6 separate regions of the Homo sapiens genome follow, and regions 2, 3, 4, 5 and 6 are each linked to region 1. Evidence: promoter capture Hi-C in human tissues and cell types (Jung and others, 2019). All regions are on one chromosome and are shown on one strand. Each heading gives the region's core, a stretch centred on a gene start or on the middle of the fragment in contact. The rest is flanking DNA. Distances are from core to core; before and after follow the strand shown.

Evidence for each region. The method cuts DNA at HindIII sites, captures the fragments that hold promoters and counts their contacts. A contact is called where the count stands out against the background at its distance.
Region 2: a contact is called between a fragment that was not itself captured here and the fragment with the promoter of CRYBB2 in region 1, in 1 of the 25 tissues and cell types used here (mesendoderm cells).
Region 3: a fragment that was not itself captured here is called in contact with the fragment with the promoter of CRYBB2 in region 1 in 4 of the 25 tissues and cell types used here (dorsolateral prefrontal cortex, hippocampus, mesenchymal stem cells and 1 more).
Region 4: a fragment that was not itself captured here is called in contact with the fragment with the promoter of CRYBB2 in region 1 in 3 of the 25 tissues and cell types used here (dorsolateral prefrontal cortex, liver and mesendoderm cells).
Region 5: a contact is called between a fragment that was not itself captured here and the fragment with the promoter of CRYBB2 in region 1, in 1 of the 25 tissues and cell types used here (dorsolateral prefrontal cortex).
Region 6: a contact is called between a fragment that was not itself captured here and the fragment with the promoter of CRYBB2 in region 1, in 2 of the 25 tissues and cell types used here (mesendoderm cells and thymus).

Annotation. Positions count from the first base shown.
Region 1 is chr22:25,217,262-25,221,150 of GRCh38, reverse strand. It overlaps CRYBB2 (crystallin beta B2), which reads right to left and starts at 1,512. Exons shown (of 6, transcript NM_000496.3): 1 at 1,485-1,512. The HindIII fragment of the contact is 11,576 bases long and covers 1-3,889 here.
Region 2 is chr22:25,526,717-25,531,038 of GRCh38, reverse strand. No RefSeq gene overlaps it. Among named protein-coding and RNA genes, the nearest start is that of GRK3, 36 kb to the left of the region's middle. The HindIII fragment of the contact is 4,655 bases long and covers 1-4,322 here.
Region 3 is chr22:25,619,093-25,623,248 of GRCh38, reverse strand. All of the region lies in intron 2 of GRK3 (G protein-coupled receptor kinase 3), which reads right to left. Among named protein-coding and RNA genes, the nearest start is that of GRK3-AS1, 56 kb to the right of the region's middle. RefSeq lists an enhancer at 2,583-3,369. The HindIII fragment of the contact is 3,659 bases long and covers 257-3,915 here.
Region 4 is chr22:25,575,882-25,579,684 of GRCh38, reverse strand. All of the region lies in intron 1 of GRK3 (G protein-coupled receptor kinase 3), which reads right to left. Among named protein-coding and RNA genes, the nearest start is that of GRK3-AS1, 12 kb to the right of the region's middle. The HindIII fragment of the contact is 6,370 bases long and covers 1-3,803 here.
Region 5 is chr22:25,544,053-25,547,759 of GRCh38, reverse strand. No RefSeq gene overlaps it. Among named protein-coding and RNA genes, the nearest start is that of GRK3, 19 kb to the left of the region's middle. The HindIII fragment of the contact is 3,110 bases long and covers 1-2,810 here.
Region 6 is chr22:25,679,046-25,682,913 of GRCh38, reverse strand. All of the region lies in intron 9 of GRK3 (G protein-coupled receptor kinase 3), which reads right to left. Among named protein-coding and RNA genes, the nearest start is that of MYO18B, 61 kb to the left of the region's middle. The HindIII fragment of the contact is 4,338 bases long and covers 1-3,556 here.

The DNA.
Region 1 (3,889 bases), core at 263-2,762:
AGCTTAAATGAGGTCCAAAGTGGGTTCCCAACACTCAACCCCAGACAATGGATACCACACAGAATATAGAATGGTCAATCCCAGAACTTCTGCCTTTATGCAGTAATTTCTTAAATAAAATTGTGTGGAACAAACAAAACCTATGCATTGGCTGTATTTGGTGGTGTGGTGGTGCCCAGTTTAGGAACTCACAAAGTTCCCTGTTCCCCTGCTCCTTCTCCCACCCTCTCCCTGGGACTCCTCTCCCCATCCTGGTACCTAGATTTCTCTTCTCTGCCACTGGTTTTACTCCCCCATTAGTGAAATCATCTGATACAGAACCCACATTACAAGAAAGAGAAGAAATGGGTGCGACGGTAGAAATCCAGGCACTGTGGCAGGCAGCAGGGTAGACCTGCCTTAGCTAGTGAGAACATCAGAAAAGCCTGGAAAATTGTCAGCCTCTTCCCCCTTCCTGCAGAAGGGGTGGTCAAACCAGGCTGTGTTTCCCCAGGGGTAAGAGAGGAAGCCTGGCCTCCCTCTTCAGAGATAACGCCAGCTTCCAGAAGCCCCTTCCACATGAAAGGCCAATACTGGATGTTTCCCAGGAGGAAGAAATGCAGTTAAGCACCTTGGCAGCCAAATCTACTGCTCTCCCGCAAGAAACCAGCCCTCTGGGCTTGTCAGAGTGCCTGAGGTCCTGCCATATCACTTCCCAGTCCTGAGTGTTCACAGACTGAAGAAGCTCAGTTGGTCCAGTTCAGGAGCAGTCTCTGCTGCCTGCCAGAATTGAGACTCTGGGCAGGTCTCATCCTCTCCCTATGCCTCAACTTCCTGTTCTATAAAATGGGGACAGTAATGATGTCTAATAATACCTGTGAACAGGTTGTGAGGATTCAATTATGTAATGTATAAAACCGGAAGCACTTGGCCGTGGTCCCAGAACACACTCAGCATGCAGCAAATGGCAGCAATTGTGGCATTATTAGAGTCATTTCTACCATGCTTTAGTGGCATTGAAATCACCTGTTGCTGGGACCTGTCACATACCTGTGGCTGCATCCTATCCCCTAGCACTCCCAGAGGCTAGGCACAGAGTGGGTGCCCCCTAATTGCAGATGTGGAGGAAAACTGACTCACCCACCTAGAAACAATGCTGAACTGTCACTGGTTTGATTCTTGCAAAACCCTCAGTTACATTCTCCTCCTCAGCGACTGGCGAAACAAGGATGCTGATAGTCTGTTTAATATTAATAATAAAGAACATTGCCCCAATGCCCACTGTGTGCCAGGCACTGTGCTGGATGATCCCCTAACTTCTCTTGAATCCTTACAATAAAGAAGGCTTTTTAACCCCCTTCCCAGTTACCAGAAAAGAAAACTGAGGCTAACAGCATTGAAGTCTCTGCCCAAAGTCACTTGTCAGAATCTGGGTGCTCCCATGCTTGCGGACAGGGGTGAGGATGAGAGAAAGAAGGGAAGACAAGCAAGAGAGGCAATCTTACCAGTGACACCAGCCCCTGCGAGTGCCGTGAAGCTCGGCCAGCGGGAGGTGGCATTTATACCTTCCCCAGAAGTGCCGGTGCCAAGATGAGTGACCGCTGTGCTCCTGCGAAAAGCAGGGTGAGAATGCTGGATTAAGCTCTCACCAAAGCTCGGGTCAGCAAATGCCCACAGACATTGTGTCTCTGCACAATAATGTCATTAGCTTTCAGATTCGGCCGCGCCAGGGCGGTCAGGCGGCTGGGCAAGGAGATGCCCGCTTTGCATGCATCAGCCGTCCGGCTGCCAGGGCCAGGGGTACGCTGGGTTCACTGGTACGGTCAGTCAGGCCGTGAGGCATGGCAGACAGAGGAACATCTCAGTGGGCCTGGGGAAGAACAAGTAAAGAAGGGTGGTTTGGCAGAGTCTGGGCTTCATTCATCTACCCATTTATTCATTCAACAAATATTTGTTGGGCATCCACTTGGTGACAATCTCTGTTCCAGGGGAGTGTCAGGAAGAGGACCTACGCCAGCCCAGGCCATTCAGAAAAGCTCCTGGGAGGTAGCGCATCCCTCAGGGATGGAGAAGAGGAAGCCTGGGAACAGGGTGGGGGGACAGTTCCAAGCAGAAAGGGTCCATATACAAGGAACCAGCATGGTGTATTTCAAGAAGACCTGAAAACAGGTTAACAAAGCTAAAGCATGACATGTGACAAATAGGGCCTGTGCCAGGTGGCCAAGGTGGGCAGGGCCTGATGTTGCAGGGCCAGGGAGGCCAATTATGGAGAGTGCATTTTATTCTCAAGGCCCCTGGCTGTTTCTCTTTCTTTTCTTTCTTTCTTTCTTTCTCTTTCTTTCTTTCTTTCTTTCTTTCTTTCTTTCTTTCTTTCTTTCTTTCTTTCTTTCTTCTCTCTCTCTCTCTCTCTCTCTCTCTCTCTCTCTCTCTCTCTCCCCTCTCTCTCTCTCTCTCTCTCTCTCTCCCCCTCTCTCTCTCTCTTTCTTTCTTTCTCTTTCTTTCTTTTGAGATGGAATCTCACTCTGTCACCCAGGCTGGAGTGCAGTGGTGTGATCTCGGCTCACTGCAACCTCTGCCTCCCAGGTTCAAGCGATTCTCCTGCCTCAGCCTCACCAGTAGCTGGGACTACAGGTGTGCGCCACCAGGTCCAGCTAAATTCTTTTTTTTGCTGTATCTTGTTAGAGACAGGGTTTTGACATGTTGCCCAGGGTGGTCTCAAACTCCTGAGCTCAGGCAATCCATCCACCTTGGCCTCCTAAAGTGCTGGGATTCCAGGCATGAGCCACTGCACCCGGCCTGTTTCTTAACCACTGTCCTAGAGTGAGTTGCTCTTAGATCCCTACCACTGGCCCCATCGCTGCCACATGGGTGCCCAGCCTTTACTCACATTTCTTTTCTATTTTTTTTTTTTTTGAGATGGAGTCTCGCTCTGTCGCCCAGGCTGGAGTGCAGTGGCACGATCTCAGCTCACTGCAAGCTCTGCCTCCCGTGTTCACACCATTCTCCTCCTTCAGCCTCCCTAGTAGCTGGGACTACAGGCGCCCGCCAACACGCCCGGCTAATTTTTTGTATTTTTAGTAGAGACGGTGTTTCACTGTGTTAGCCAGGATGGTCTCGATCTCCTGACCTCATTATCCGCCCGTCTCGGCCTCCCAAAGTGCTGGGATTACAGGCGTGAGCCACCGCGCCCGGCCTTTACTCATGTTTCTTTAGTGCACACACCTTCCTTGCAGCCCAGGCTGTGTCTTGATCCAATCTGAGGCTTGGAGACTGGGTCAAGTATACCTGCTTTCCCCTGTCTCTCATTTTCTTAATGCACATATGCATGCACACGCATGCACACACACTACACACACATGCCCCAGCCCCCTAGCTGGGCTTTTCCTTTTGCAGCACTCATCACTACCCAACATTCTGTTACTCATTTATTTTCTGTCTTTCCAATGAGAAGATAAGCACCACAAAAGCAAAGAAGTTGTCCCCCTGGTTTACCATGGTATCTCCAGAGCCCAGTGCCTGACGCATAGTAGGTACTTGTTTTAAAATCCCAGGGCTGGCCGGGCACAGCGGCTCACGCCTGTAATCCCAGCACTTTGGGAAGCCAAGCCAGGCGGATCACCTGAGGTTGGGAGCTCGAGACCTGCCTGAGCAACATGGAGAAACCCCGTCTCTACTAAAAATACAAAATTAGCCGGGCATGGTGGCACATGCCTGTAATCCCAGCTACTCGGGAGGCTGAGGCAGGAGAATCACTTGAACCCACGAGGCAGAGGATGCAGTGAGCCAAGATCATGGCATTGCACTCCAACCTAGGCAACAAGAGCAAAACTCTGTCTCAAAGAAAATAAATAAATAAATAACATAAAATAAATCCCAGGGCTGCTGTAATAAAGTGTCACAAACTAAGTGG
Region 2 (4,322 bases), core at 802-3,301, 310 kb before region 1:
TTTTTTCTCTCTTTTTTTTTCTAGAAACTCTTTTATGTTCTTCCCACCTCATGGCCTCAGAACATGCTAGAAATTTTTATTCCTCTCTGCCTTTACTCACATCATTTCCCTACATGGAATGCCCTACATGCTTATCCATTCCTACATCTTCACCTAACCAACTTTTACTCATTCTATGGCACCCAATGAGTTTCAATCACCTCTCCTGTGAATCTATTTCATCTCCCCAACTTCAAACACAACTAAGCCTTCCTTTCTTCAGGCTTCTGTTACACTGTTGTCAAGCTTTATTTTAGTATTTATCTTATACAGCAGAGATGAGTTTGTATACCCACTTCTTACTAAGAAGTGTTGTACACCAATAAATTCATCTATATGAAATGGACAAATTCCTAGAAACACACAAACTACCAAACTGACTCAAAAAGAAATAGAAAATCTGAATAGGCTTATAACAAGGTAAGAGATTAAAGCATAATCAAAAAGCTCTCAAGAAGGAAATCCCAGGACTAGATGACTGGTAAATTCTACCAAATATTTAAAGAAGAATGAACACAAATCCTTCCCAAACTCTAGTTAAAAAAAAAAAATAGAAGAGGAGGGAACACTTCCTAACTCATTGTACGAGGTCGCATTACTCTGATACCAAAGCCAGATAAAGACATCACAAGAAAAGAAAACTACATACCCACTTCTTACTACCAAATATGAGTGCCTGTGTCTCACTGAGCTTTGGGCTCTGAGCACCCAGCACAATTCCTGGCACACAGTGAGAAACCATAGAGCCTTCTTTATTCCTGAATAATTTAATGGCTAACCATGGGCAATGTTTGAACTGGAAGAGGTTGTCTGACTTGAAAGGATTTGAATCCCAAGATAGTTTTAGATGGTTATAGAAAGATGTGTTATTCTTAACATCACTCAGAAAGTAAGTCTACCACATTCAATCAGCTTTGTGATTTCTCTCTTCCAAATTCCCCAAGGGAGGGAGTTGGAGCTGGGTAAAGCTCAAGTTTCACTTAATGAGGTAATGATTTGTCCTCTTTCTTGTGGGAGTGGCTGCAAAGATGAGAGGATCGCACAAGAGCCCAAGAGCATTCCTTGTGTATTTCTAGAACACAGTAGATAACCATATGGAAATATTACTCAGCAGCTGAACTACTCTCTGGGAAGATCCTTGGGTTGGGATTGGGAACAGGCTAGAGGGACAGAGGCCCTCCTTTTTTTTTTTTTTAAACTGATGCCGTTGTTTTATTTCTTTGCATGTTGCAGCACGCAGAACATTAATAGAGGATGAGAGTGCAGTGACTAAGGAGACGCTAGAAGGTTCAGGGAGAAAAGCAAAAGGAAAAGGAAAGGCAAAAGAGGTGTCATCACAGAAGTCCTATGGGGATGGGTGATGAGGAATCTTATTAAGTTTTGCTTTTTCATATGTCATGTAAATTCTCTCCCCAGTGTTTCCATAACACTTTGAGTAAAACACCCATTTCTCATTAACATAGTGTGTAGTTAGACTTAATTTGTTTGTTTTTAAAGATTGATCCCAAGTGCTGAGTCCATTTTAAGGTGTTCTCACAATGAGAGCAGATCTCCCCATTAGAACCTACTTGTATTTAAATGACAAGCATAATGCTTGATGTACCAACTAGAATGCTTTTAGTTGAAAGAAACAGAACCCCAGCTTAAAATAATGTGAACAGTGAAAGGAATTTATTGATTCATGTAAATAAAAATGGGTCAACACTAGTTTCAGGAATGGCTTGATCAGGGTGCTGACTCCATTGCTCTGCAGTTCTGTTGATTTTGCCTTCCTGAACATGATGGTTTACTTTTCAGACTCACTTTTATCATGGTGACAAAATGTCTGGAACAGTTCCGTACACCACATCTTCCTGAAGAAAAGTGTCTTTATCTCAATTACCAAACAAAATCCTAGGTTTCACTCTAACTGAGCAAACCAGTCACATGCCCATCTCTGAATCAATCACCATGGCCGACGGAAGTGCCGTGCTCTGATTGGCTTAGGATGAGATTTGTGCCTATCTCTGAAACAATCCTATGCAAGAGTAGGATTTTCTGATTGGGTTTAGTCAATTGGAGGGGGGTTTACCTCTGGAACTGTGAATGGAATCACTGTCCCCTAAATTATTATACATGACTGCCATGCATTGGGAGTAGAGTCAGTACTCTCAAAATCACATGACCCCATGCCTTTGCAGAGCAGATGAATGGATGCCGCTAAAAAAGCCATCAATGTCTTTCTGAATGGGAATTTTCCTTTGGGATGTAAAAAGTGCCTTTTCATTCTGGCCTTTGATTCTCCAACACAAAATTAAACCACTCTGCTACTTCTCCAGTGTGCATGGATGTGTCCACACTTTTCTTTGCTTGATATATTTTATCAGTTGCTCCAAACATTAGCAAAAAGCTGTTCATGGACTTGAACATTATTTAGAAACAAGCAACCCTGGTGTTGAACATGCCTTTGACAATATACAGTTGTCTACCTTGAATCTTTCGCTCCTTTCATTAGACTGAATAGCACAATGGTTAGGAATTGGAACTCTGGAATTGGACTGCCTGATTTCAGAATCTGGTTCTGCCACACACTGGCTGTGGACCTTGAATAATTTACTTAACCTTTCTGGGGCTTGGCTTTTTTATCTGCAAAATGGGGATAATGTGGGCACAAACCTCATAGAGCTGCTATGAGAACCAAATGCTATGATGAATATACAATGTTGGCTCAGTGCCCGGTAAATAGTGAATGCTCCAGAAATATGACGATGATGATGATGATGATGATGACAAGTAATTGGCCTTAGCTCTTGCTTTGTCCTTACCAGCTAAATAGAGTCTGACACCATAAATGTAACATTTTCTATAGCTCCAATAACAAAATCTAAGCATTACAGATTCTACACATTTGCTTCTTGTTAAGAATTTATAGATTCACAATCACCTAAGTCGAAAGGAGACTAAAATCTGAAGTTGGCATTCAAACAACACTGCTATTGGAAAAATAAATTTAAAAAAGGAAAACTAGGGCTGAATAGTTGAATAGTTAATTGTAGTACTTGAGCTATTAACATATTAATAATGAATTACTAATAATAATGATTAACAGTTTTGATATTTAGATATTAAAGAGTTCCTTCCAGAAGAGTTGTATCAGTCCTGTTTCACAAACAGGCAGCATCATCTGTAGCAGGGTACAGAAAGCAGTCACCAAGCACGAAGACACTAGAGTCATTTATATGATCAAGAAAGGGCTTTGGCTGAGCGCAGTGACTCATGCCTGTAATCCTAGCACTTTGGGAGGCTGAGGTGGGCGGATCATGAGGTCAGGAGTTCAAGACCAGCCTGACCAACATGGTGAAACCCGACTCTACTAAAAATACAAAACTTAGCCGGGTGTGGTGGCGGGTGCCTGTAATCCCAGCTACTCAGGAGGCTGAGGCAGGAGAATTGCTTGAACCTGGGAGGCAGAGGTTGCAGTGAGCCGAGGTTGCACCACTGCACTCCAGCCTGGGTGACAGAGCAAGACTCCATCAAAAAAAAAAAAACAAATAAGAAAAAAGAAAAGAAAGGATTTTAGTTTTTAGGGAAGCAATGCCCTTCTCTCCCTATCCTTTCCAACAGAAATTCAATTTTAAAAATCCTGACCCACTGGGATTTTATTCCCCCTTTCTCTACTCACCAAAGTAGTAGCTCATTAAATCCACATTCCAAAGCCTGCTGTAGTCAGAAGGCCCTTTCTGCATCCAGCTCAGCCTTTGTTATATCACATGGCTTTATGTGTCATAGTCATTATAAAAACAACTGATTTAAGAAGACACACGAGTTTTGGAAAATCTCCAGAGGATGCAGAGGTACAGAGCAGTGGTTCTCAAGCTTTGGGAGCTGCTAGAATCTTCTGGGCAGGCAAGTGGGAGAAGGAAGGACTGGTTCAAAATGCAGATTCCTGGCCCCAGCCCCAGAGACCCTAACTTGAAATGTCCAGGGTGGGGCCTGAGAGTCTGTACTTTTGTGCCAGCTTCTTGGACAACACTGAAGCAGATGTGGTGTGGATCATTCAAGAACCCTATCTGGAAGCTCAGAGGATCAGACCCTTCCACCTGAAGACAAACCCAACAGCCACTCAGTGTATTTATTTTATGGGGGTATATCACAGGGCATGTATTATGGACCGAATGTTTCTGTCTCCCTAAAATTCATGTTAAAGCTGTAACCCCCAATGTGATGTTTTTGGAAATGGGAACATTTGGGAAGTAATTAGGTTTAGATGAAGTCATGGGGGCCAGGTTCCCATGATGGGATCC
Region 3 (4,156 bases), core at 837-3,336, 400 kb before region 1:
AAAGTATGGCCGGGCATGGTGGCTCACACCCATAATCCAGCCCTTTGGGAGGCTGAGGCAGGCAGATTGCTTTGAGGTCAGGAGTATGAGACCAGCCTGGACAACATGGAGATACCCCGTCTCTACAAAAAATACAAAAATTAGCCACATGTGGTGGCACACACCTGTGTTTTCAGCTACTCAGGAGACTGAGGCTGGAGAATCACTTGACCCCGGGAGGCAAAGGTTGCAGTGAGCCAAGATCGCGCCACCGCCCTCCAGCCTGGGTGACAGAGTGAGACCCTATCTCAAAAAACAAAAACAAAAGAAAATATGCTTTATAGAATGTATTTATTCCCCTAAATTACAGAAACTATGTATACACTTACCCCCAAACTATGGCATTGAACTACTCCTTGAGTCTTCTCTTCCCTATTCAGTTCTGGCTCCAGAATATGTCCCAGGCCACCCATTCTTACATCTCTGCTGCTCTTACTCTAACAAAAGCCACCTTTGGCGACTTCCTAAATGCGACAGGGGTCTCCAGATTCTTCTTCCTGTTTCCATGCTCCCACTCTGATCCCAGCAATTCATTCTTCATAAAGAGGCTAGAATGATCTTAAAACATACATCGGGCCTGGTCAAGACCCACCAGAGCTTCCCATCACACTCAAAACCCTGGCTCCTGCGCAGTTCCCTGCCTCCCCTCTTTTCTCTCATCAGGAGCTGCCTGCGTGGGCCTTCTGGCAGTTTCTGAAACACACTGCACTCCCTCTTGCCCTGGCTGATGACGACGCTGCTCCACATGATCCCCTGATCACATCCTCAAAGAAATGTCCCCTAAACAACTAACCTATGTAAGCGCTACTCGGTCTCCTTCAGGTCCTGGCTCTTCACGATCCCACTGCACAGCAAACGCTATGATCTGGCTGATACCCTCAGACGCTGAGGGAGCTGATCCCCGCATCCCGCCCAAGGTCAGTGTTCCCTGCATTCCAGGACCTGCTGCACACCGACAAGCTGCATGGTTCTACCAACTCACTTCTCTGCCAGTGTTCCTTAGTTTCGTCATCAATCAAATGAAGGGGCTGGAATGCATAGACTCTGAGGTTTCACTTAGGCCTAACATTCTGTGGTTTCATGAATTCAAGTGGGGTCAGTTTTGATTTCATTCTCTTCTGCTGGGGATCTTATTGCTATTTTGACAAAGAGAGGAGGGGTTTAAAGAAAAAAAAGGCAAAGGATGCCAACAGGACACAGTTGGAAAAACTGGTTATTTTACCAAGGCTTTAACTGAAACAGTGTGTTTCCCTTTAAGGAATCAAGCTTAACATGTAGAGCCAATAAAAGCCCCTTGGGGAGAACTGGCCCCATACCTTGTCTATAGTCTCTGCACAGGGTTCCTAACCTGTGGTCAGTAAAGAATGTCACTTTCTAACAGGTCTGGGAGCTCCCAGTTTATCTTGGGACCTCAAGAGGAGAGGATCACCCAACTCACAGGTATTTGAGGATACAAACCCATGGCTGGGCTCAACTTTAAGGGTCTTGTCTAAGATTCCTTGTGGAATAGAGTTTCATCAAAGCTAATCCAAAAGGTCCATGTAAAAATAACCATTCTTGCTGCCCTTTATGCAAATAATCAGGCCAAGTATAAGACTAAAGTTTATTCATAATTAGTTTTTACCAAAAATGAGGACTGGAGAGAAAAATTTTGCTCCAAAGGTTATCATATATTTGTCATTAAATCCTAGTCTCACTAATTGTTTTTAAGCTTTTTGCCTACATTTTAGACTAACTCTGCCTATTCCTGTGAATCAAATGGTGATCTTCTGCAGCTTGAAAAAAAGAAAAAATAGGGATGGGTAACGTAAACATGTGAATCAATATACTAGTTCTGGGCAATTATCTTGCAAATTCTGCCAGGTAATGAAAGTGAGTAAGGTGCCCATAACCCAGAGGTTTCTTTGTTTGGGAAAATAAAACCAAGGAACTTCACAGACCCCCAAAGGGGAATTCTATATGTTGGCAAGTAAAATTTTAGATGGAAATTACCTACCACACCACACTTGTGGGAATTGCTGTCCTCACTCTACTATCTCTATAGCAGGGATAATAGTTACTAACAAAAAGGAAGCATGAAAGTTTTACTATCACTAAGTCTGCTAGGACTTTTTATTGGGTCTAGTGACGCACTTTTAAATGAAACATGCTGCTTTTGGATGAACACCTCTAGTATAGTAAAGGAAAATCTACAGGTACTTAAAGATCAAATCAAAATTATTGACAGGCTCAAGGAAAATGCTGGCTTCAGTCCCGAGTGGCTACAATCCCTCTTTAATAAATTCCAGTCTTCTTGATGGAATTCGTTAACCCCTTTATTAAGCCCCCTCTTACTGATATGTCTTGTATTGATATTTGGACTCTGTATACTCAATACTACAACTCAAATTGTTTCTTCTTGCCTAGCAGCAATCAAACTCCAAACGGTGCTGTCAACTGAACCACACAAGGACACGCCATTCTTCTGAGGACCCTTAGATGGACTCCAGGAGGAGGCCTAGCTGCTGTTCCCCATTCAACACCCCTTTTCTGCAGGAAGTAGCCAGAAAGAGTTGTCGCCCAAAACCTCCTAACAGCAGCTAGTGGGGCGTCTCCACTGGGAGGAATGTTGTAGGAGTTATTAAGAAAGTATTTTAGGCAGACAAGGAGGAAAAGTTTTGGGAAGTTTTCATTTTTTAAAGCCTCTTGGGAAAAGCTTCTTGTAAAGCCCCTGCTCTTAGAGCCGGGCTGGCAACCTTTGATATGCAAATGCAGGCAATTAGAAACTAGGTCCACCCAACACGACAATCCCCACAATCCCTGCGGGACTTCTTGCCCTTGCCCAACATGTTCCTGGCAACCTAATGGCCCTCACATATCCCCACGTGTGCAGAACATCATGGTGCCCTGCATTTGCATATTAAAAGGCTAGGGTGGGAGGGCCAGCTTTTTCGCGGGCTATGTGAAAGACAGGCCTGGTCAAACCAATCCCGAGCCCTGTGCAAAACAGACACTGCCTTCTCCAGCCTCTCTATATATACACCTGGCTGGTTTCCGCCCCATTTGGGGTTCCCTCTCTTGGCTTTGAAGCGCCCCTCCCTCTGTCTCTGTACAGGGGAGCTTCTTCCTTCTCCCTTCCTTCTTGCCTATTAAACTCTCCACTCCTTAAAACCACACACACACACACACACACACACACACACACACACACACACACACACACAAAAAAGACAAAGGAAAGGAAGAGTAAAGGAAGGAATGTGAGGAGCAGGAGAGAGTAAAGGAAGAGAGAAGGGGGAGAGGGAACCACTTTCTGTGAGAAATGAATCATAATGCTTTCTCCTGGCAACAAGTAGCTACCTCAGGAAGAAACCAACCACTTCATAGATGTTCCAGCACCACCTAACCTGCTGCTGCCCCTTAAGACATTTCAAATACTTAGTTTGGTCTGGCTCAGTGGCTCATAATCCCAGCATTTTGGGAGGCTAGGGTAGGAGGATCACTTGAAGCCAGGAGTTCGAAACCAGCCTGGGCAACAGCCAGATCCTATCTCTACAAAAAAAAAAAAAAAAAAAAAAAACTAGCCAGGTATGATCGTGTGCACCTGTAGTCCTAGCTACCCTGGAGGCTGAGATGGGAAGATCACATGAGTCCAGGAGTTCGAGGCAGCAGTGAGCTATGATCACGCCACTAAACTCCAGCTTGGGCAACAGAGCAAGACCCTTTATCGAAAACAACGACAACAAAAACTCCTTACTCAGCTTAGTATAGTGGTCAAAAGCTTTAGCTTGGAGTGTGGTAGACTCCACCTCAGCCCATCACTATGTGCAAGACACCAGGCAAATCCCTTCACCTCTGAGGCTCGGCTCCTTGCCTGTAAAAGGGGGCCAAGAATGATCTGCACAGGGTCATTCTGAAGACTAAATGAGATCACGTATGTAGAGCACTGAGCACCAAGGGGCTCATTAACTGTTATCATGACCCAAACTGTATGGATACAGCCTTTTCTAAAGCTTCTTAGACTTACCTGTGCTGTTATGGGTAACCTGGAAGCCAACCATCATGTTTGTGTTGCACCATGAAGTTATAACAAAGGCGCTATATGTCTAGGATTTTACAGGGAGTCTCAGTTTCAAGT
Region 4 (3,803 bases), core at 166-2,665, 360 kb before region 1:
CTGGCTAACGCGGTGAAACCACGTCTCTACTAAAAATACAAAAAATTAGCCGGGTGTGGTGGTGGGTGCCTGTAGTCCCAGCTACTCAGGAGGCTGAGGCAGGAGAATGCCGTGAACCCGGGAGATGGAGCTTGAAGTGAGCTGAGATCATGCCACTACACTCCAGCCTGGGGGACAGAGTGAGACACCATCTCAAAAAAAAAATAATAAAAATAAAAAAAGAAGTCCCCTCATTCATTGGTCGGGCACAGAGGCTCAAGCCTGCAATCCCAACTTTTTGAGAGGCTGAGGTGAACAGATCATTGAGCCCAAGAATTCTCGACCAGCCTTGGCAACATGGCGAAACCCCATATCTACCAAAAAAAAAAAAATTAGCCAGGCATGGTAGCATGTGCCCTTAGTCCCAGCTATGTGGGAGGATCAGTTGAGCCCAGGAGGTTGAGCCTGAAGTGAGCTGTGATCACACCACTACTGTACTCCAGCCTGGGTGACAGAGCGAGAGCGTGTCACAAAGAAAAAAAAAAAAAGAATTCCTGTCCTGCCACCCCAACCATCAACTAGGGTTCTAAATACCCTAAGAAGCAGTTTTTACAGGAAAGGCAGGATAAATGCTTAATTCTTTACCTTTTCAATTGCCACTATTCAGAGACAGAGTAGGTGCCTTGGTTCTACTGCTGGTGGTGATCAATGAGGTGTTCTCTTCTGTCTTGTTTGGGGATCTCTTGTGGATAGCATGAGATATCCACAAACTCATGCTTTGTTATTAGTTTGTTATTGCAGCCATAATAAATTACCACAAACTTGGTGGCTTAAATCAAGCAGAAATTGACTCTCTTACAGATCTGCAGGTCAGAGGTCTGAAATGGGCCTCCCTGGGCTGAGGTCGGTCAGAGTGTCAGTAGGACTGCGGTCTCACATGGAGGCTGTAAGGGACAGGCCATTTCCTTGCCTTTTCCAGATTCTACAGGCTGCCCACATTCCTCGGTCCATGGCCCCTTCCTCCTTCCTCAAAAGGCCAGCAGTGGTTGGTTGACTCATTCTCATGTTGCATCGCTCTGACACCAACTCTCCGCCTCCCTGGCGGTAACACTAGGGCCCACCTAGATAATCCAGGATAATCTCTTTATCTTAAACTCAGCACCTTAGCTGCTATGATGCCACCTACACCCCTAACGCCCCCTTGTCATATAACATAACATGTTCATAGGTTCTGGGGATTAAGATGTGGATATTTCAGGGGGGCATCATTCTGCCCACCACAGGGGGTTTGTATCAGTCATATTCTTTTGATGTTCAGGGTGTCTCACTTTTAGCCAGTGGAAACCCCTTCTTCTGGCCTCAGAGTTTGTTAGCGAAGGTGCCCACCACATTTCTTGGATGGCTCCTTTTTTTTCTGATACAACAGGTAACAGAGGGTCCAGGCTCATCTCACCCACACCTGGAGTCAGGCGCAGGTGTATGAGGTGCCTATGTGATGGAAATGCAATTGTTTCTTCGATTTTTTTAAAGACTGGGGATGATAAGCACACATATTTGAAAAAAAAATCATGAATTTCAAATAACCTTCCAATTCAAATTTGATCTTACAGAATTTTTATTTAACTCTTATCTTGTACTCATGTATCTCTTCATTTACACTTAAATTCTTGGTTCTAACCAAAAATGACATTATTCTTTTTTGTTTTACCCAAATATATATATGAAATAATTGTTTATATGAAATAATTTCAAACTAAAAATAATATTACTCTTAACAGTAAAGCTTCTGAATAAAATTAGAATTTCTTTGCAGCTCTACGTAGAGTAGACTATGCCCATATCTTACTTATTTCTAGGTGTCTATCTTAGAGAAAGGCTCACACATAGACCCAAAGGCACCTATGTAAGAACATTCACTGCAATTGCTCTTGGGCTTATGAGCACAGGGTCAAGTAGATCAGAGTTCTGACATCTCATGCAGCAATTCCAAACACTGAACAGATCTATATACTGCTGACGAGGAAAAGCTCCACGTGCATTACTAGGTGAAGAAGGCAAAAGCCATAAGTGGATTTACTAATGTGCTCCTGACAAATACAACTCTGTCCCAAGCTGAGCTCAACAACCTTTCTGGGTAGGGGTTAGATATGCAACCCGCTCCATTAATTTTCCATCACAATTTAGAATGAACTGCTAATGAGTGCCAAGTTTAACATTAAAAATCCTTTACGGGCCAGGCACGGTGGCTCATGCCTGTAATCCCAACACTTTGGGAGGCTGAGGCAGTTGAATCACTTGAGGCCAGGAGTTCGAGACCAGCCTGGGCAATGTGGCAAAACCCTGTCTCTACAAAAAGTAGAAAAATATTAGCCAGGCATGGTGGTGCACATCTGTAGTCCCAGCTACTCAGGAGGCTGAGGCAGGAGAATCAGTTGAACCTGGGAGGCGGAGGTTACAGTGAGCCGAGATCACACCGCTGCACTCCAGCCTGGGCAAGAGAGCGAGACTGTCTCAAAAAAAAAAAAAATCCTTTATTGTATCTAGAGTAACTGACAAACGTGTTCAAGTCAAGGATACTCATTTACCAACTGGCAGGCATGGAGATGAATTTTAATTAAGAATGCACCTAAAATCACAAAAAGATGTTTGGGGTAAGAAAACATTAAGAACTCATGACATGTAGCTTAGTTGGTTTCTCAAGTTATAACACTGCCATCATTATTAATAACAATCTTATTAGTTAACATGGAATCTATGACATCTTTTCTTCTAGGAAATTATTAATGTATTTATTATTAAGTTAACATGGCCAGTGAAATTATGCTACTGGAGCACTTCCTCAGACCCCTGCAGTGGATAATCTTTACTGAATGAATACAATGCATTTTCAAATTGTGTCACTAACGTCTGAAATTGACAGTGCTCCTCTAGTCAAATCCATGAGCCCCCTCCTCATAAAATAAGATTCACCAGGAAAAAGACAGTCTGAAGGTTTTTCTGAAAATACGCTGAATTTGGAATCAGAAAACCTGGATTTGAAGCTCAGCTGCACCATTTGTTATCAGCGCGACCTTGAGCAATTAGCTTCTCCCTGAACCTGAATTTCCTTCTTCTAAAATAAGATGATGAGTATTACAGAGCCATTTCCAAGAATCTCTAAATAAAGAAAAAAGCTTGCTCTCTGAGAATAAAAACTTTAAATCAATACATAACACAAATGGCCAAGAAATGGCAAAGGTTTCTGGTCTAGGCAGCTTTGGCAGTGGTTTCATGAACTATAGTCTCAAATCCAGTGGACGTGTGCCCACCAATTACAATGGGAAACATGAAAATATGGAAAGATGACTTGTCCCAAAGCCACTGTAGTCAGGGATTTCAGGTACTGGACATCCAGCGTAAGCCACTCCTAGGAGGGGTGACTTGGTCCCAAGTAACCATCTGACTCATCCGACTGTGGGTCTGTGCTCGCTATACCACCTTCTGATGGTCGTTTTGCTTCCCACAAGGGGGACCCACGAGAGAGAGCTCCAGCCACACAGACGCTGGGCACGTAGGCTCCTGTGGGAGCCAGTGTTTAATGCAATGTAGCAAACTGGACATTCTAGTTATAGTGTAGCTTTTCAGATAAATCTGTGTAAGTGAGTTAGCGCACTTTTGGGAGGGGGAGGCTCTCACTTAGTAGGATTCTCAAAAGGGTCTTTAATCTTAAAATAAGAACCAGAGGCCTATAGGAAGAGAATAATTTAGTCAGGCAGACTTGGCTGATTATGTGAGTTTCACAATAAGAGACAGATGCTTAGTACAGTGACATAATAAAATCTAGT
Region 5 (3,707 bases), core at 6-2,505, 330 kb before region 1:
CACTGTTACTCAATTCACCCTCAAGCTGCTCTCACACTCTCCACTCTGACTCGAGGTATAACAACAACTTTATGATGATTAAATTCAATTTTGCTTCCTTCTGAGATCCTTCGATTGCAAGAAGAGAGGCCCTAGCTTAGTGTTTTTTATGCTGGGACTCAAGGCCAATCGGTAGGTCATGGAATACATTTACATGGATGCTAGCAGCATTTTTACATAATGAAGTGAAATAGAATGGAATAAAAATCATCAGAGTGAGTCATACACAGTCAGTTTTAAGCATCGTTAAGTGAAATATTTGTTTCAGATGTGTGTGTGTGTGTGTGTGTGTGTGTGTGTGTGTGTGTGTGTGTGTATTCCACTGCTTTGTATTAAATAAAATGTACTTCTTACCATGGGCCATGGTCAAAGACTTCCAGAGTCCCTGAGCCCAAAAATGTATCCACAAGCATTCCAGTCACTACAAAGGTAAATTAATAAATTGACTTCACCCAAGTGAACTATAGAGTTGAGTTTCTACAACAGAGGTCAGCCCCTGATCTGTGGTGGCCCCAACCAAGATATAACCTCCCCATAAGAAGCTCTGCCAACAACAGCTTAAGAATTAGCCTCACTTTCCCCACTTTAATGTAGAAATGGAAATTGCGACCACAATGATCAATGCAAATTGTTTTAGGTGAAGACACTCTCTGACCCCCCGGGTAGATGTAAGCACTTTAGAGAACAGGCTTGGAGAGTGTGGCCTTTTAAGAGATGAGTCACTCCTAATAGGCCCGTTTCTAGGCCAAAATGAGTGCTGTGTGATTTGGAGCAAAGTGCTTCACCTCTTTGGACTTCTGCTTTTTGACTGTGAAACAAAGAGTAAGTAGGGCTGGGAGGGATCCTTGCAGGGAAGTCTGGAAGCTTGTTGCGTTCAGCTGGTGCAGAGGCACTAGCTTCTCCCTTTTCATCACCTTCTCCCTGGGAGGGAGACAGAATCTTTCCTTCCCCACTACCCTGCTTTTTTTTTTTTTTTTTTTTTGTACTTCTGCATTGCCTCATTCATAGAAAGGAGACGAAGTTAACATAAAAAAGAGGGTTGGCTAGATTATGATTTCTCAACATTGGAAACCCATGTCTCCTTTCAGTAAAGTGGAAACTGTATGTGTTTGGACCACCTTTGCAGGCCTTGTTCTTCCCCGTGCCAAGTTCAGACCAGACCCAGGACATCTAGAAGGGAGAAGGGAGGGAAGGAAGAGAGGGGGAGAGGATGGGAGGAGGAAGGGATGGAGGGAGGAGGAAGGGAGGAAAGTGGAAGAAATAAATCCAACTTAAACAGTATGGCCAAGGGCTGTGGATTTTATTGAAGATGAGGTGGAGATATGAAGGGAGGGATGACATCACTCATCACACAGCAAAACTGCCCCAGTACCCTCTTTTGGCCTCTCTGCTCTTTTTTCCTGTTCTTTGAGTACAGAGACTACATCTACCGGATTATTCTGTTGACAACTTGGTTATGCTGGGAACCACATTTCTCAGACCTCCTTTTCCTGTATGTTCCTAGGTTAGAGTTGCCCCAAAATGAGGTTGTGCAAGACCAGGGAGGCTCATGGGAAGCAGCAGCCGTTACACTCTGAAGGTCATCATTGGTTAGAAGCAGTGAGGGGTGGCCAGACACAGAGGGGCCAGCAGCTTCCAGTTTGTCCTCCATCTTCCCTGCTCTGTATCTAGCTCTCCCCGACCCTGCTGACCAGCAGTGATGGCAAGCCCACCCTCAGACCCTTAGCGGCAGATTCACAGAGGCAGTCACCGTGGAGAACTAATACATTCCATAGACTTCTAGATCAGCCCCTTTCCTGGTGCCTGTGCACCAGCTCAATACACCAAGCTTCGGACTTCCCTACAAGCTCCTGACTCATTCACTTGCACCAGCCCTTGTTAGTGATCCTCAGTGCTCTCAGTGGACCTTCTTCCCCAGCTTCTCCTACAAGCGTGTATCATCTGATTCCTGTAACACAGTTCTTATTCCAAACATACCACCGTGTGGCTCTGCTTCCCGGACTAATCTCTCACCGACACACCTAGTTTCTGACCCCGCACCCAAACCGCTATCCCTCTCTTCAAAGATAGCAGAAATGAGATTCAACTGGAGGTATCAATAAAGAGCTAGACTCTGCAAGTTCTCAAAGTTTGGATAGGAAGTGTGGGCTGAATTCTGAGGACAAAAGGGAGCCATTGAATGTGTTAAGCAGGCACTGGGGCATGATTTGTTTTTTGTTTTTTTTTTTGTTTTGTTTTTTCAGAAAGACTGCTGTGAACATAATGGGTTACTGGAGGGCCAGAGAGATCGTGGGGAGACCAGTGAAAGGGCTGTCACATATGTTCCCAATTATTTATTTTCATCTATATAAATGGAGCAATTGTTCAATGAAAGTTAAACTTTAATCATGGCATGAAAGGGAATAAATCACTTGTCAAGTAAATATTTACTGTTTCTGGACTACGGCTCCTCAATAAAATGTGTCTGTCTCCTCTTTTCCCATCCAGTATCCAGCATAAAAACCAGAATTTAAGAACTCCTCTGCTGGGTGTGGTGGCTCACGCCTGTAATCCCAACACTTTGGGGAAGCCAAAGCAGGCAGATGGCTTAAGCCCAGGAGTTTGAGACCAGCCTGGCCAACTTGATGAAACCCTGTCTCTACAAAAAATACAAAAAACAAAAATAGCCAGATGTAGTGGTGTGCACCTGTAGTCCCAGCTATTTAGGAGGCTGAGGTGTGAGGATGGCCTGAGGCCAGGAGGCAGAGGTTGCAATGAGCTGAGCTGGCACCACTGCGCCCCAGCCTGTGTGACAGAGCAGGACCCTGTCTCAAAACAAAACAAAACAAAAACAAACAAACAAAAAACCCTTCAAATCGTGACAACATGGATTAAATCAACCAAATAAACCAGAAAATATGAACAAGTAACACCGAGAGAAAACAGACACAGGAGACACCTTAAACAGTAACAACAGCAGCGTGGTGGTACCAGGTACCAGGTTTGTAGAAATTTGTTCATCTACAATAAGAAAATGTTACAATATTGAAAAGGAAAAATGGAAGAAAAAAATATCACAGTCTCCCTTGCCATCCTACCACTGCCTTTTCAGCTCCGTTTCAACATTCATGCTTCTTTCAGCTCATCAAGAACAGGTTGTGTGCATATCAATTTCCAGAGCAGTTTTCTGAAGCTCCAACTGTGTATGATATTAGCCTTCTGAGAATTAAGTCCTAAAAGAAGCACCACTATTTTTTTTCTTATCTGCTGGGGAAAAAAATGAAGGATAAGGAAGGGGAAGATAGATTTTGATCGCATATTCTGACTCTCAAAGCAAAACAGAAACAAGATACAGCTGCCTTGAGCTTCATTCTTTTGAATTTCTGCTTTGAGGTTTTCATTCAATAACAACATTTGATTGAGAAAGTTCCCCCCAAAACCTGAAGGGGCCTATGGATCTGAGTTAACAGCATTTACCCAACAGCCCAAAGAAAAATTATTTTCATATGTCCTGAAATTAAGGGAACTATCTTTATTCCCATCTCATAAAAAGGAAGTGAAACGTAATGATGAAGCTGAACTACAGGGGCCCACAGTGTCCTTTTGTTCCCCCAAGTGGATGCTCTCAGATTGCAACTTTGAGGAGAAGCTCATGTAGGTAATAAAAGCTCTGGGAGGGCACAGACCCT
Region 6 (3,868 bases), core at 138-2,637, 460 kb before region 1:
ATAAAGTTCAAACACAATTTGCAAAGCTAAAATATGCTGTTAGAAATCTGGGTAGTAGTTAAGTTGGGTGCAGGGTTAGTGACTGGGAGAGGCACAAAGAGATTTCTAGAATACTGGTAACTTTCCGTCTCTTGATCTGGGTGCCGGAGATGCGTGTATTCCCTTATGAAAATTCATCAGTGCTATGCTAGATCTATTAGCTCTATTTAGATCTATTTTATCTATGAAATCCACTTAGATTCTTTACATAAAGTGTATACTTGTCACTAAACTGATTCAGTTTTTAAAATGGCCTAGATTGTCTATATCTTGTTTCTTAACGAACACAAAAAATTATTAAATTCCAAAGAAAATGTTCAAATTTCAACATAATCTGTAAACAGAATTTGCATTGTTAAAGCTAACAGCTCAAGACCACATCCCTAGGAGGCTCAGCCCCCCTTAAAATGACTGCCTCAGAGAAATCAAGGCTTCCCAAAGAATTTTTATTTGTTCCAGCAAACACTCAAAGATAGAGCCCCTATCTCCGAGCCTCCATGGGAGGGTAGGAGTCTAACTTGGATAAGTCCCAGTTAGCAAACCCAGATGGGTCCCATATGGACCATGCCCCTTCCTGCATTGTAAAATTCTTCACTTCCTTGACTCTGCTCCAGCCCGCATTGCACTCCACAGGCCACTGTCCCTTTAAAACATCCGGTCACCTCTGCACAAGTCAGAATGGAGCTCCATTATTTCTCTTACTGTCTAGTCATTACCAAATAAATGCTGTTTTAATTACCAAATAAATGCTTTAACTAAAGTCCAACTATATTTATCTTTGACTCGATGTAAAATAAACACGCAGGTGAAGGAATCAGATGTGGTTATCTCTACAGAAATCAGTTACTGCAACCCTCACCTCTCGGGGTGCTGAACAGACACTATAATGGGTTTCATGTGGAGTCCAGGACACAACCGAATACTGACCAATATGAAAAAATAAGTGGCAATTTAATGAAGGGTGGGATACAGTTCCAAGGATAATTATGGATAAGACGGCCTGCCTTGATTACAAGTCAGAATAAAAGTGGATTTTTAGAAGTAGACCATTAAGTAAAACTCTTGAGCAAGGAACTGTCTACTTTGATTTCCTACTAAAAGTCAACAAAATAGCTTACATTTTGCAGGAACTCGCCATAAAAAAACTGTGATAAAACAGGACCATGAAGTCGTTGTTGAAGAAAATCCTCCACACTGCAGCCGGAGCAATCTTTGTGAACTGCAAGGCTGATTATGGTCTCTCTCTAGTTAAAACACTTGGTTTCTAACTGCAGTCAGATCATTTAGGCTCCTCAAGATCGGCCGGCGATGCCCTTCACGGTCTGGCCTGGCCTTCATGTCTCTCTCCAGCTTTGTCTTGCACGACTCCCCCCACCACCGCAGACCCTGGCCCCTCATCTGATTCCCCCAACCTCACGTGCCTGGGCTCAGAGGAGCCACGTGCACTGGCTCCTCTCCAGGTAACCCCCAACTTCAGAAAGGCATTCGCTGACCCCATCTCCACCCTGCGAAAGGCCTTCCGAGCACTGTGTGCCTGTCTTCCATAGCTCTTGCCACAGGTCCCAGTTGTCCATACATTTCCGTCATCATTTGAATAATACATCTTTTCCCTTTCCATGCAGCTGTATGAGAACTAAGAACTGGGACCACAGTCCCAGCTTGCCGCAGAGTGCCTGGTTCAACCTAAATCCTCAACTGTGGTTCAGGGAATAAATGAGTCACGCTTCTGAGGAACTTAAATGACTGACTGGATGAATTGCTGACTGCTCTTCACAGCTGTGGACACGCTTATGCTGGTTCTCCAACATGCATATTTCCTTTTTTGCCATCTGAGAATTACAGAAGAAAACCGGGAACAGTACTTCCTACTGTCTTTTGGGGAGATGGGTAGGAATACTCAAGTTGAGATTAAAAAAAAAAAAAAACCTTCCAGTAAAAAGAAAACTGTGGTGAGTGAATGCATTTCAGTTACATGTCCACAATACGGGAAAGCCTGCCGATACAGTCTGATCAAAAGCTTCACTTAATGAGGGTATTTTCAACTAAGTTTTATTAAAAACTATAGAAAGTATCCCCTGATTAGCAAAAACAATTCCAAATAACTTTACTATAATTATTTTTGTTAAATTATGCATTTATAAATTTTAAAAATACCATACAGTTTTGATATCTAAATAAAATACAAATAATTCTTTTAAATTAGTTCAAAGTGATAGCCCAAAATAACCCTAATTTTTTAATTTACTCTTTTAGGGTTACACCAGTGAGAAACTACACAACCACTTAACCACATCTCCTCTCACCTGAGTCAAATCAATATAAAAATATTACATGAAAACTATACTTATGTTTTTCCAACATTAAAACGTTTATTTTCTATAGGCTTTCTTGAGAATAAATATCCAAGGCTTTGAGATAACTCACTGAAAATTAATATTTTAATAACCACTTAAAATCTTCATCCAGTACTCACATCCACGTTTGAAATTTAGGATACAGACATTTCCAATAGAAATTAAAAGCCAATGCCATTCACACTGACTCCAACAGAGTATGCAGGATGCTTGGTTTCCATTCTCATCAGTTAAAAACTTGGTCACACACACAAAGCAACTCTTATTTGAAATGCTTAATGCCCATACAGTGGGAGGTCAAGGCACATAATTAGAAATTATTTATGGCTATGGGGTTTCCATTTGTTGTAACTTAGCTACATTATGCTATTCTTTTGCTTCAATAGCAAATACCTCTTCCAGAAACACTTTAATGACAGAATAATATAAACCATAATACAATAAATACAGGTGACAAACGAAAAAACATACAGCCTATAAAGTGATGATAAAAGGAGCACTGGCCAAAAAGTCTAGAGATTTGGGGAAGGAAATTAACCTCTCTAGGTCTCAGGTTACTTGCTCAGCAGTTGAAAGGGATTCTTTCATTACCCACTAAAATTTGGTTTTTTCAGATCCTTTTGGTGAAGACCTTACTTAAAATCCAGCCATGGGATCTAGAAGTCTCGCACATTTCTCACTGAATATAAACCTTCCTGGCTGGAGTATCTACGGTTTCATTCACATGTGGGGTACACAGTTAGTTAGTGTCTGGCCCCTCCACGCTCACCCCATGCCTCTCCCTCTCTGTCCTGACTCCCTAACCCACTCTGAACACCAGGTCACAGCCATACCAGTGCACACACGCTGTAACAGGGTACTGAGAGGACGGGTTTTTTGGATGTGTCTTCACATACACTGGCATCTGTACAGACACATAAAAGCTGAGGTTTTGATCTTGGGTAATACCATTAACAGAAAAAGAAATTGGAATGGGCAGCTATTTAGTAAGTAAAGAAGATGTAGGGTAAAAGTGGGGTCACACATGTTGAGCTAAAAATGATAGCTTAATATACAAAGAAAGTGTCCAATAAGTAGAAATATGGTGCTAGAAATGGAAAGGCTGATAAACAGAGTAGCAGGTAGTGAGAGGCAGGTAAGATCACCTTCCAGTGAAACGCTGACTAGGGACAATCTCAAAAGGACAATTCGGATGTGAGTAATCCAAGTCGCTTCTCTCGATTCGCTTCTGAAGGACAGAAGCCACTTTTCTCTTACTTTTCCCCTCTAGGTTAGTCCTTCTTGCCAGTCGTTTAGTCAGGTCTTGACTATATTCCAGTGATTTTTCTGGCTATCATTATTTTCTGCCATCTCTACTACCATATTCTGCAAAGAAGGAAGTCAAGGACAAATAAATAGGCACTAAACGGAGAAGCCATGGGTGTGCATAATGGAGGTGGCTGGTGTTCTTCTAACTTGCAAAATCAAATAAAGAG